Regions from separate parts of the Homo sapiens genome. Here regions 1 and 3 are each linked to region 2. The links are contacts of gene promoters, found by promoter capture Hi-C in human tissues and cell types (Jung and others, 2019). All regions are on one chromosome and are shown on one strand. The core of a region is centred on a gene start or on the middle of the fragment in contact, and the rest is flanking DNA. Distances in the headings are between cores, read along the strand shown. Region 1 overlaps DOCK7 (dedicator of cytokinesis 7). Region 2 holds the start of DOCK7 (dedicator of cytokinesis 7). Region 3 has its middle 43 kb from the start of ATG4C.

Region 1 (3,978 bases), core at 874-3,373, 40 kb after region 2:
ACATCCTCTCCAGCACCTGTTGTTTCCTGACTTTTTAATGATCGCCATTCTAACTGGTGTGAGATGGTGTCTCATTATGGTTTTGATTTGCATTTCTCTGATGGCCAGTGATGATGAGCATTTTTTCATGTGTCTGTTGGCTGCAGAAATGTCTTCTTTTGAGAAGTGTCTGTTCATATCGTTTGCCCACTTTTTGATAGGGTTGTTTGTTTTTTTCTTGTAAATTTGTTTGAGTTCTTTGTAGATTCTGGATATTAGCCCTTTGTCAGATGAGTAGATTGCAAAAATTTTCTCCCATTCTGTAGGTTGCCTGTTCACTCTGATGGTAGTTTCTTTTGCTGTGCAGAAGCTCTTTAGTTTAATTAGATCCCATTTGTCAATTTTGGAAGCCATGAAATTCTTCCACGATTCAGCACAGTATGATAAAGGGACACAAAAGTACTTCATTTATTTATTTATTCAGTTAGTGTTTATTGAGAGTCTTATATGTACCAGGCACTATACTAAAGACTGATGATACAGCAGTGAACGAAACCAACTCTCTACCCTCATGGAGTTTATATTCTAGTGGGAGATGAGATTGTCAATAGACAATAAACCAACACAGGTAAATATAGACTAAATATGATCTAGGTGAGTCAGTGGAGAAAAAAGTAGGATGAAGTGGATAGAGAGGGCCAAGAAGAGGGACAAATATTTTTATTTTATTATTTATTTTGGTTTCTATTTAGTTATTTACTTGGGACAAGGTCTCTCTCTGTTACCTTGAATTCCTGGCCTCAAGCCATCCTCTTACTTCAGCCTCCCCAAGTGTTGGGATTACAGGTGTGAGCCACCATGCTCGACCTTCTGTTTTATATAATTAATCAGAGGAAGCCTTACTGATAAGGTGATTTTGAGCAGAGACCTGAAGGAAGTGAGCCCTGTAAATATCTGGGGGAAGAATGTTATTAGGCAGAGGGAAGAGCAATACATGCTAAGGCTCCATATTGAAAGCATGCTAGAAATGTTCAAGGAACAAAGAGTAAAGAGGACAGTGTGGCTGGAACCGTAAATGAGAGTGAGAATGCTAAGAAACAAGTCAGAAAAATGGTGATGTGTGTGGGGTTGAATGGGTAATTATTAGAGCCTTATCATAGCAACAGACTAGAGGACAGGATGACATAGAAGAGAGTATTGATCATGAATCATTCTTTGCTTTCTTGAATTTCATATCGTCAATTTTTTTAGTATAGAATTCAGTAGCATTCTGATTTATCAGAGCAGCTTACGTATGCAGCTTTACAAATTAAGACACTTGAAACATTCCATTAAAGATTAAGATACCTGCTTCTAAGTAATAACTTTCATGTTACTATATTGAGTGTCTTTAGTTCTTTCAGAGAAAATACTTTCTTTTGCGATTATGCAGTGATGTTAATATCATGTAATTGCTATTTTAATAGCTTTAGCAACAAGACTGGATGTGAGTAATTCATATCAAATGTGATTCTTTACTGTCTCATAAATTGGGTGATAACAAGAACTATACCATCTTGTGAACATTATTGTTTTGCTTCAACTAAAATGTTCCTTCAGTTTGGCTCTATGAAGTGTTGAATCACGAACAATAATTGCTTTTTGATCAGCTCATATTTGATGTTCTTGGGTATTAGGTTGTTATTGGATTGTTAAGAAAGAAGCTTGCATTAATTTAAGAGTTGTTTTTAGCTAACTGTGTATATATGTAATGTTAATATATATATGTACACAGTGATGGTGTAGATTTTGCTGTTTTTCATTTTACAAGTCTGCAGCTTTAGGTTAAGATCTTTTATAGATAACGAGAGATAGCAAAAAATTTCTTGGCTACTTGAAATTTTAAGATTCAGTGCTTTATATGTATATAACCTTTTAAAATTTATATTATTCTTAATTCAGTGTATGTTTTCTATTTCTCATTTTATTCTTTAACCCAAGTTACTGGCTTCCCAAGTTTTCTTTTTACTGACCAATTCTCTGAATTGAAAGTACAGCTTAATTTATATACACATGATTGGCATGGAAAGAAGGAAAATATGATTTGCTTTTGGAAACTCATACTCTACTCCTTAGCTGGGTTAAAGGAACATTGAATATAAATTTTCTTTAACCTAAATTGCTAGAATAGATTCTTATTACATAAAGAAATAATGCAGAAAACACTTGGCTTATTACATAATGATGCCCAAAAAGTGAAAAAATTCCTAAGTTTGATAGTTGATATTTATTTAACTTTTTTTCTTTAATAGATATCATAAATTGGGAACAGGATTTAATCCCAATACATTAGATAAACAGAAAGAAAGGCAAAAAGGTTTGCCAAAACAAGTTTTTGAATCTGATGAAGCTCCAGATGGCAACAGCTACCAGGATGATCAAGTAATACTTTTATTCTTAAATAACTATAAGAAGTTATTTAAAAATAGTTGTCAATTTATTAATTAATATATTTATATTTAATGTTTTGCATGACAGGATGACCTTAAAAGACGTTCAATGTCAATAGATGATACCCCAAGGGGTAGCTGGGCCTGTAGTATCTTTGACTTGAAAAATTCACTTCCTGATGCTTTGCTTCCCAATTTACTTGATCGAACTCCAAATGAAGAAATAGACCGTCAGAATGATGACCAAAGGAAATCAAACCGTCACAAAGAACTTTTTGCTTTGCATCCATCACCAGATGAGGTATAGATGTTTGCATATAAAGAAGCAAATGATTATTAAAATTGATCTTTTGGGATTATGATTGATATATAGTATTACAAAATGTAGAGGATAAAGCAACTGAAACAGCTGTAATTTTTATAAATGAATACATTTTATACTAGTGAATTTACTATTCTTAATGAGTAAGTTATAATCAAATGACTTCTGTCTGTGGATAAATAGGTCATTCTTCTCTATGTTCTATTGTGAAGACTAAAAGTGTTAGATTAGTAAAGTAAGTTCTGAAAAAGATAAAGAGTTGGAATATGATAAGCATATTCATTTTGGTGTTGCTTTTCAATTTGTAGGAAGAACCAATAGAACGGCTTAGTGTTCCTGATATACCCAAAGAACATTTTGGTCAAAGACTTCTTGTAAAATGCTTATCACTCAAGTGAGTATTTATTTCTTTTACTTACAACTTTTATTTTCCAGGATAAAATTTTAGTAGTGATGTAACAAAATCTGAGTAGATTTTATAGTTGCATTTGTGTCCTTTTGAGAAGTATTGTTCTACATGTCATTTTAAATACTATTCAGCATTCAAACGTATGTATGAAGCTGAGCCTACTGTGCTAAGCCTAACGTATTTATGAAGCTAAGCCTACTGTGTAGCAAACATAAAGTCAACTTTTAAATTCTGTATATCATTTTAAGTGCTATTCAGCATTCAAACCTATGTATGAAGCTAATCCTGCTGTTCTAAGCCTAAGATATATATGAAGCTAAGTCTGCCATATAACAAATATAAAATCAAAGAGTTGATTTTACAGTAGGCTTTGATTTTTGAAGATTTTGAAATACGTATTTTTTCCTTCTTTAAAAAACTTAGATCTGATTTCTGCTAACATCATTGAGGTGTTATGTTTACATTCTGCTTTACAAAGTGCTTTCTCTTATTTCATGCTGTCATGTTAATATTATAAGTTTAATTATTTGTTCTGACTTAAGAAAAAAGTTTCAATTCATAGAGCTTTCTGAAACAAGCAACTCATAGGGACAGACGATGTCTATATATAATTCTGGCAATTTCTTTCCTTGAAAGCTAAGGCTTTGTATATTTAGTTAGATTTATTCAGAAACATGTTAGATAGATTAAGTGCATTGAATCTTTTGAATAACAGGACACCTAACATCAGTTCTTACTTATAATCTTATTTTGTTTTTTAACAGCTTTATTGTGATCTAATTTATATATCATAAAATTAACCCTTTTAAAGTATACAAGTTAGTGGTATGTATTCACAG
Region 2 (3,956 bases), core at 579-3,078:
AGATGAAGTTAAGTAGCTTGCCTAAGGTTACAGAGTAAGAAAGTGGCAAAATAAGTCTGGGTTCCTATCACAGAGGGTCTTAAAAGCCAGGTACAGTGATAGCCTTGACTTACAGTCTGTGAGTACCTGGTTCATCTTTCCCAATGGACTCAAACATTCTGAGAGCAGGTCTGTGTCTAGTTCACCTTCGTGTTTTTTAGAACACCTAGGTGGGCTCTATACTTAGGTAGAAGCCAAATATCTGTCCTCTTTGAATAGACTATCTTTTCCTTTAGTAAACAAGCATCTGAAAACAGTGTGTTACTGGAGGGCGCCTTGGCAAGAGCCTGTGGTACTAGCTACTCCTCCAGAGGCTGAGGCAAGAGGATTGCTTGAGCCTAGGAGTTTTAGGCTGCAGTGCCCTATGCATTCCATGCTTGAGCAACACAGGGGGATTCTGTCTAAAATAAATAAATCAATAAATAAAAGCAGTGTGTTACTGCAATGAGCATTGTTATATAAATACACAGTCTTCCACAGAAGTTACAGCACTAGACAGGAAGTTATGGATCTGACTAATTGAGGCTTTCACCTCTGACTCAGTGTGTGACTCTGGCAAGTGACCTAATGGCTCCAAGCTACAGATTTTCCAATGGTAAAAGAGAGGAAAACAGGTATCCAACATATTCCACCAGGACATACTGAGAATATAATAATAACAATAAATAAATACACATTTTAAGTTCTTGCAATACTTAAGAGGAAAGGTACTACAAGAAACCAAGATATTTTTCTTAGTGTCACCATAATTTCAGTATCAACAGATATGCATTAGGAGCCAAATATTCTAGACATTATGGGATTACAACAGAACAGATGAAAACAAATCTCTGCTAGTCTCTGTTTTATAGGCTATTATGGACAAGGTCAGTTTCAGTGGTCAACACAGAGCTTATTTAACAGAACATCAAAATGGGGGTGAACGTTAGAGCTCACCTGGATTTTATATATATATATATATATATATATATATATATATATATATATATATATATGTATGTATGAGAGACAGAGAGAGATCCAAAAGGGGTTAATAATACGGAAACAACTGTCCTCAAAGAAAAGAACCGGCTCTGGGTTTGAGTCTCAGTGGAAGAGTTTACCATCTGTGCGACCTGGGGCCAGTCACTTAGCTTTTCCAAGCCAATTTCCTTCCCTCTAAAATAGTGATAGTAACGATCTACTTCAAAGCGCTCGTGCTTGAAAAACTTTAATCCAGTGGCTGGCTAAGCACCAGAAGTCAACTATTACTATTGTTATCGCTGCAGGAGCAAGGTATTTTCTGGCTCTTTCTCTATAAGAAAAACCACTGTTTCTCCAGTTAGGCTGCATTCATGAGGCCGAAGCAGAAACCCAAGTGCTTTAAAAAGCTCGGAGACCGGTGCTGCAGAAACATGAACCCAGTCATCCAGGGCTTTGGTTAAAGCACAGCCCCCTCGGCAAAGCCCACCTTTCATTTCCTTCCCTTCCATTTCGGGAAAGCCAAGCTCCCCCTACGCGTTCGGTTATCTTATTTTCTTGCCTCGCCAGGTCGCTGGCCTGTCTCTGGCTTCTCTCCGCGACCTCTCGGTCGTGCAGGCTCCGCGGCAGCGAAGCGGCTGGGGCTGGCGCCTCGCTTCCTCAGCGCTCCATTCTTCCCCTCGGCTCCCGCCGGCCGCAGCCGCCTTCCGCAGCCGGGGTTCCCGCCGGGATTGACGCGCTGGGGGAGGAGCGGTTTCTCGTTGCGCGCCTCTAAGGAACATTACGGCAGGGCTCGTTCCTGGCTCCGGCCGCCAGCCCCAGCCTCCCAGGTCCGGAGCCCGGACTGGCGGAGGCCGCGAGGGAGGGAGCACGAGCGAGGAGGCACGCGCCCGCCGGTCCGCACCCGGCCCGCCGCAGCCGCCGCCGCCGTCGCCGTCGCCGCAGCAGCCATGGCCGAGCGCCGCGCCTTCGCCCAGAAGATCAGCAGGTAAATATCCGGCGTGGGGCGCGCCGCCGCCGCCGCCCGAGAAAGAGCCGCGGAGTCCTCCCAGGCCTGGCCTAGGAGGCGGGTGGGTGTGGCGGGGCCGGCACCGGGATCCCGCGGCCTGGCTCGCGGCGGGGCGGAAGGGGTTCGGGGTGGCTGAGGGGGTAGCGGAGGCCTCGCGCCGCCCTCGAACCCCGGCCTTCAGCCCGCGCCCGCCGCTGAGCCTCGGCAGGGAGCGGAGAGGGCCGCGGACTCCAGCGCGCCCGCCTCCTCCTGCTCCTCGGCGGCCCGGGCCTGGACTTCTGCGGAGGTTTATGGAAGGGCGGTCGGCCGCTTCCCAAATTCTTTGTGTTCCCACCCCCGGGCTCGTCGGGGGCCGCCGCGGCGTTTCGCCCCCTCCCGTCTCTCCGCCCACCCCTCTTGGCCCCTAGAGGGTGCGGGGTCCGCCCTCCTCCACCCCAACAAAAGGAGAAACGCGCGGCGGCTCGGGGCGGGTGGGAGGCCGCCCCTCCTTCACGCGTCTCTCTCTTCCTGAGAAATCTGACAGGAACCCTCTTTGCACCCTCGGGCCAGGTTCAAAGTGGACTTGTGCGTCCAGGATTGAAAACGTGTGGACAGAATGAAAAGTTGAGAGCTGCGGGCTGCACCTTCGGTGTGCAGCTGCCGAATCCCTGACGGATTGCAGGCTGAAGCTTGTTCTGAGTTCGCCTGTGAATTTAACTGTGCGCCTGTGTTTCTCAGAGCACCCGAGAAGATGGATGATAGGCAGTGTTCTTTATACACTGACATCCTTTTATATGTTAGCAGTCTTGAAGTAAAGCAAGTGATTGCAGTCTTGAAGTAAAGCAAGTGATTGAGGTGGAGGTTTCAAAGCCTTTCACCTACTTGTGGTGGTTGGTTGCCACCTTTCTCCCACCCGCCAAATAAAAATTAAATGACAGAGGACTCTAATATTTGTAGAATTTCTTTGTGGAGTATACTTATGTATGAGACAGTAGACATTTTTGTTTTAATAAAATCATATTTGTGTGAATTATGATGTCCCAAGAAAAGAAGCATTCATATTAAATTACCTTTTTTTGTTTTGGGGCAGTTGTAGTTCTGTGGCTCTGAGTCTTTTTAGTTTGCTGACATTTCTTTAAAAATTTTGGGCCGGATGCAGTGGCTCAGGCCTGTAATCCCAGCAGTTTGGGAGGCCGAGGCAGGAGGATCGCTTGAGGCCAGGAGTTCAAGACCAGCCTGGGCAACATAGCGAGTCCCCCCCACCCCATCTCTGCAAAAAAATTAGCCAGGTGTGGTGTTGCACCTGTCGTCCTAGCTGCTTTCGAGGCAGAGGCTTTTTTTTTTCTTTCTTTCCAGCGTTCTAGCACTTTTTTTTTCCTGAAGGGGCAAAATAGCAAGTGTTTAAGAGCATGGGCTCTACTCTCAGACCCCGACATGGGTTCAAATCCTGATTGGTATTTTCTAGCTTGGGACTTTGGCCAAGTTGTTGGGCCAAATTTCCGTTTCCTCGTCTGGCAAATGAGAATAATAATAGGACCCAGCTCATAGTGTTGTTGTGAACATTAAGTGGCATAATTTGTGTAATGTGCGTAGGATAGTACAGGGCCTATACTACCTGTCATCAAACACTTGTAGTAATTAGTTTCTCCCAGGGAGTTATGATGACAGGAAATTTTTTTTTTTTGTAAAATAATTAGGTCTTACTTCTGATGATGATGTCATTAAAAAATGTTATTACTGGCCGGGCGCGGTGGCTCACGCCTGTAATCCCAGCACTTTGGGAGGCCGAGGCGGGTGGATCATGAGGTCAGGAGATCGAGACCATCCTGGCTAACAAGGTGAAACCCCGTCTCTACTAAAAAAAAAAAATACAAAAAATTAGCCGGGCGCGGTGGCGGGCGCCTGTAGTCCCAGCTACTCGGGAGGCTGAGGCAGGAGAATGGCGTGAACCCGGGAAGCGGAGCTTGCA
Region 3 (3,881 bases), core at 1,134-3,633, 53 kb before region 2:
GCCAACATCTACTATTTTTTAATTTTTTTGATTATGGACATTCTTGCAAGAGTGAGGCAGTACCGCATTGTGGTTTTGATTTGGATTTCCCTGATCATTAGTGATGGTGAGCATTTTTTCATATGTTTGTTGGCCATTTGTATATCTTCTTTTGAGAACTGTCTATTCAAGTTCTTAGTCCACTTTTTGATGGGATTGTTTTTTTCTTACTGATTTGTTTGAGTTCATTGTAGATTCTGGATATTAGTCCTTTGTCAGGTATAGATTGTGAAGATTTTCTCCCACTCTGTGGGTTGTCTGTTTACTCTGCTGACTGTTCCTTTTGCCATGCAAATCTCTTTGGATTAATTAGGTCCCAGCTATTTATCTTTGTTTTTATTGCGTTTGCTTTTGGGTTCTTGGTCATGAAATCCTTGCCTAAGCCAATATCTAGAAGGGTTTTTCCAATGGTATCTTGTAGAATTATTATAGTTTCACGTCTTAGGTTTAAGTCCTTAATCCATCTTGAGTTGACTTTTGTATAAAGTGAGAGATGAGGATGCAGTTTCATTCTCCTACATGTGGCTAGCCAATTATCCCAGCACCATTTGTTGAAAAGGGTGTTCTTTCCCCACTTTATGATTTTGTTTGCTTTGTTGAATATCAGTTGGCTGTAAGTATTTGGGTTTATTTCTGGGTTCTCTATTCTGTTCCATTGGTCTACGTGCTTATTTTTATACCAGTACCATGCTGTTTTGGTGACAATGACCTTATATTATAGTTTGAAATCAGGTAGTGTGATGCCTCCAGATTTGCTCCTTTTGCTTAGTCTTGCTATGGCTATGGGGGCTCTTTTTTGGTTCCATATGAATTTTAGAATTTTTTTTCTAACTCTGTGAAGAATGATGTTGGTATTTTGATGGGGATTGTGTTGAATTTGTAGATTGCATTTGGCAGTATGGTCATTTTGACAATACTGATTCTACCCATCCATGAGCATGGGATGTGTTTCCATTTGTTTGTGTTGTCTACGATTTATTTCAACAGTGTTTTGTAGTTTTCCTTGTAGAGGTCTTTCAACTCCTTTATTAGGTATATTCCTAAGTTTTTTTTCGTTGTTGTTTTTTGTTTTTTGTTTTTTTGCAGCTATTGTAAAACGGGTTGATTTCTCGATTTGATTCTCAGCTTGGTCGCTGTTGGTGTATAGAAGAGCTACTGATTTGTGAATATTAATCTTGTATCTGGAAACTGCTGAATTCTTGTATCAGTTCTAGGAGCTTTCTGGAGGAGTCCTTAGGGTTCTCAAGGTAAACCATCATATCATCAGCAAACAGTGACAGTTTGACTTCCTTTTCACTGATTTGGGTGCCCTTTATTCTTTCTCTTGTCTGACTGCTCTGGCTAGGACTTCCAGTACTATGTTGAAGAGGAGTGGTGAGAATGGGCATCCTTGTCTTGTTCCCGTTCTCAAAGGGAATGTTTTCAACTTTGCCCATTCATTATTATGTTGGCTGTGGGTTTGTCATAGATGGCTTTTATTACATTAAGTTATGTCCCCTGTATGCCAATTTTGCTGAGAGTTTTAATTATAAAGCGATGCTGGATTTTGTTGAATGCTTTTTCTGCATCTATTGAGATGATCATGTGATTTTTGTTTTTACTTCTGTTTATGTGGTGTATCACATTTATTGACTCATGTATGTTAAACCATCCCTGCATCCCTGGTATGAAATCCACTTGATCATGGTGGATTATCTTTTTGATATATTGTTGGATTCGGTTAGCTAGAATTTTGTTAAGGATTTTAGCATCTATGTTCATTAAGGAAATTGGTCTGTAATTTTCTTTTTTGGTTGTATCCTTTCCTGGTTTTGGTATTAGGGTGATGCTGGCTTCATAGAATGAATTAGGAAGGGTTCCTTCTTTCCCTGTCTTGTGGAATAATGTCAAAAGGATTGGTACCATTTTTTCTTTGAATATCTGGTAGAATTCTGCTGTGAAACCGTCTGGTCCTGGACTTTTGTTGTTGGTAATTTTTAAATTACCATTTCAATCTCGCTGCTTGTTATTGGTCTGTTCAGAGTATCTAATTCTTCCTGATTTAAGCTAGGAGGGTTATCTTTTTCCAGTAATTTATCCATCTCTTCTAGGTTTTCTAGTGTATGTGTGTAAAGGTGTTCATAGAAGTTTTGAATGATCTTTTGTATTTCAGCGGTGTCAGTTGTAATATCTCCTGTTTTGTTTCTTAGTGAGGTTATTTGGATTTTCTCTCTTCTTTTCTTAGTTAATGTTGCTAATGGTCTATCAATTTTATTTGTCTTTTCAAAGAACCAACTTTCTGTTTCATTTATCTTTTGGTTTTTGTTGTTGTTGTTGTTTCAATTTCATTTAGTTCTGCTCCGATCTTGGCTATTTCCTTTTTTCTGCTGGGTTTGGGTTTGGTTTGTTTTTGTTTCTCTTCTTCCTTGAGGTGTGACCTTAGACCGTCTGTTTGTGCTCTTTCAGATTTTTTGATGTAGGCATTTAGGGCTATGAACTTTCCTCTTAACACCACCTTAGCTGGATCCCAGAGGTTTTGATAGGTTGTATCATTATTGTTGTTTAGTTTGAAGAATTTTTTAATTTTCATATTGATTTCATTTTTGACCCAATGCTCATTCAGGAGCAGGTTATTTAATTTCCACGTATTTGCATGGTATAGAAGATTCCTTTTGGAGTTGATCTCCAGTTTTATTCCACTGTGGTCTGAGAGAGTGCTTGATATAATTTCAATTTTCTTAAATGTATTGACGCCTATCATGTGGTCTATCTTTGAGAAAGTTCTATGTGCTGTTGAATAGAATGTGTATTCTGTGGTTGTTGGATGAAATGTTCTGTATATGTCTGTTAAGTCCATTGTTCCAAGGTATAGTTTAAATCCATTGTTTCTTTGTTGACTTTATGTCTTGATGACCTGTCTAGTGCTGTCAGTGGAGTACTGAAGTCCCCCACTATTATTGAGTTGCTGTCTATCTCATTTCTTGGGTCTATTAGTAATTGTTTTATAATTTTGGGAGTGCCAGTGTTAGGTGCATATATGTTTAGGATTGTGATATTTTCCTGTTGGACAAGGCCTTTTACCATTATATAATGTTCTTCTTTATCTCTTTTAACTGTAGTTGCTTTAAAGTTTGTTTTGTCTGATATATGAATACCTACCTCTGCTCATTTTTGGTATCCATTTGCACGAATGCCTTTTTCCACCCCTTTACTTTATGTGAGTCCTTATGTGTTAGGTGAGTCTCCTGAAGGCAGCAGATAGTTGGTTGGTGAGTTCTTTTCCATTCTGTAGTTCTGCATCTTTTAAGTGGAGCATTTAGGCCATTTACAGTCAATGTTAGCATTGAAATGTGAAGTACTGTTGCATTCATCATGCTCTTTGTTGCCTGTGTACTTTGGTTTTGTTTCTTGTTTTTGCTTTTTAACTTGTATTTTTGTTTTATAGGTCCTGTGTGATTTATGCTTTAAAGAGGTTCTGTTTTGATGTGTTTCCAGGATTTGTTTCAAAATTTAGAGCTCCTTTTAGCAGTTCTTGTAGGAGTGGCTTGGTAATGGTGAACTCTCTCAGCATTTGTTTGTCTGAAAATGACGGTATCTTTCCTCATATATGATGCTTAGTTTCACTGGATACAAAATTCATGGCTGATAATTGTTTTGTTTGAGGAGGCTGAAGATAGGGCAGAAAATTCTCCCACGAACAGACCTTCAGCTTTTCCAGTGGGGGTGTGTGTTCAGGAGAGGAGGGTCTCCCTTTCCCACTTCTGCAGTTGAGGCATTCACAGTATTTGGGGTGTCTCCCAGGTCCTGCAGCAGCAGTCTGCTTCTTTTAGAGGGTCTGTGGGTCCTCTCAGGATTGCTGGTTT

What was found. The method cuts DNA at HindIII sites, captures the fragments that hold promoters and counts their contacts. A contact is called where the count stands out against the background at its distance.
Region 1: a contact is called between a fragment that was not itself captured here and the fragment with the promoter of DOCK7 in region 2, in 2 of the 25 tissues and cell types used here (hippocampus and psoas muscle).
Region 3: a contact is called between a fragment that was not itself captured here and the fragment with the promoter of DOCK7 in region 2, in 2 of the 25 tissues and cell types used here (bladder and hippocampus).

Annotation. Positions count from the first base shown.
Region 1 is chr1:62,646,837-62,650,814 of GRCh38, reverse strand. It overlaps DOCK7 (dedicator of cytokinesis 7), which reads left to right. Exons shown (of 50, transcript NM_001367561.1): 5 at 2,271-2,400; 6 at 2,497-2,709; 7 at 3,039-3,124. Among named protein-coding and RNA genes, the nearest start is that of DOCK7, 40 kb to the left of the region's middle. The HindIII fragment of the contact is 3,976 bases long and covers 136-3,978 here.
Region 2 is chr1:62,686,258-62,690,213 of GRCh38, reverse strand. It overlaps DOCK7 (dedicator of cytokinesis 7), which reads left to right and starts at 1,828. Exons shown (of 50, transcript NM_001367561.1): 1 at 1,828-1,987. The coding sequence starts at 1,950. It overlaps DOCK7-DT (DOCK7 divergent transcript), which reads right to left and starts at 1,732. Exons shown (of 2, transcript NR_185999.1): 1 at 1,562-1,732. RefSeq lists an enhancer at 422-716 and a silencer at 1,726-2,475. The HindIII fragment of the contact is 7,491 bases long and covers 1-3,956 here.
Region 3 is chr1:62,739,406-62,743,286 of GRCh38, reverse strand. No RefSeq gene overlaps it. Among named protein-coding and RNA genes, the nearest start is that of ATG4C, 43 kb to the left of the region's middle. The HindIII fragment of the contact is 9,788 bases long and covers 1-3,881 here.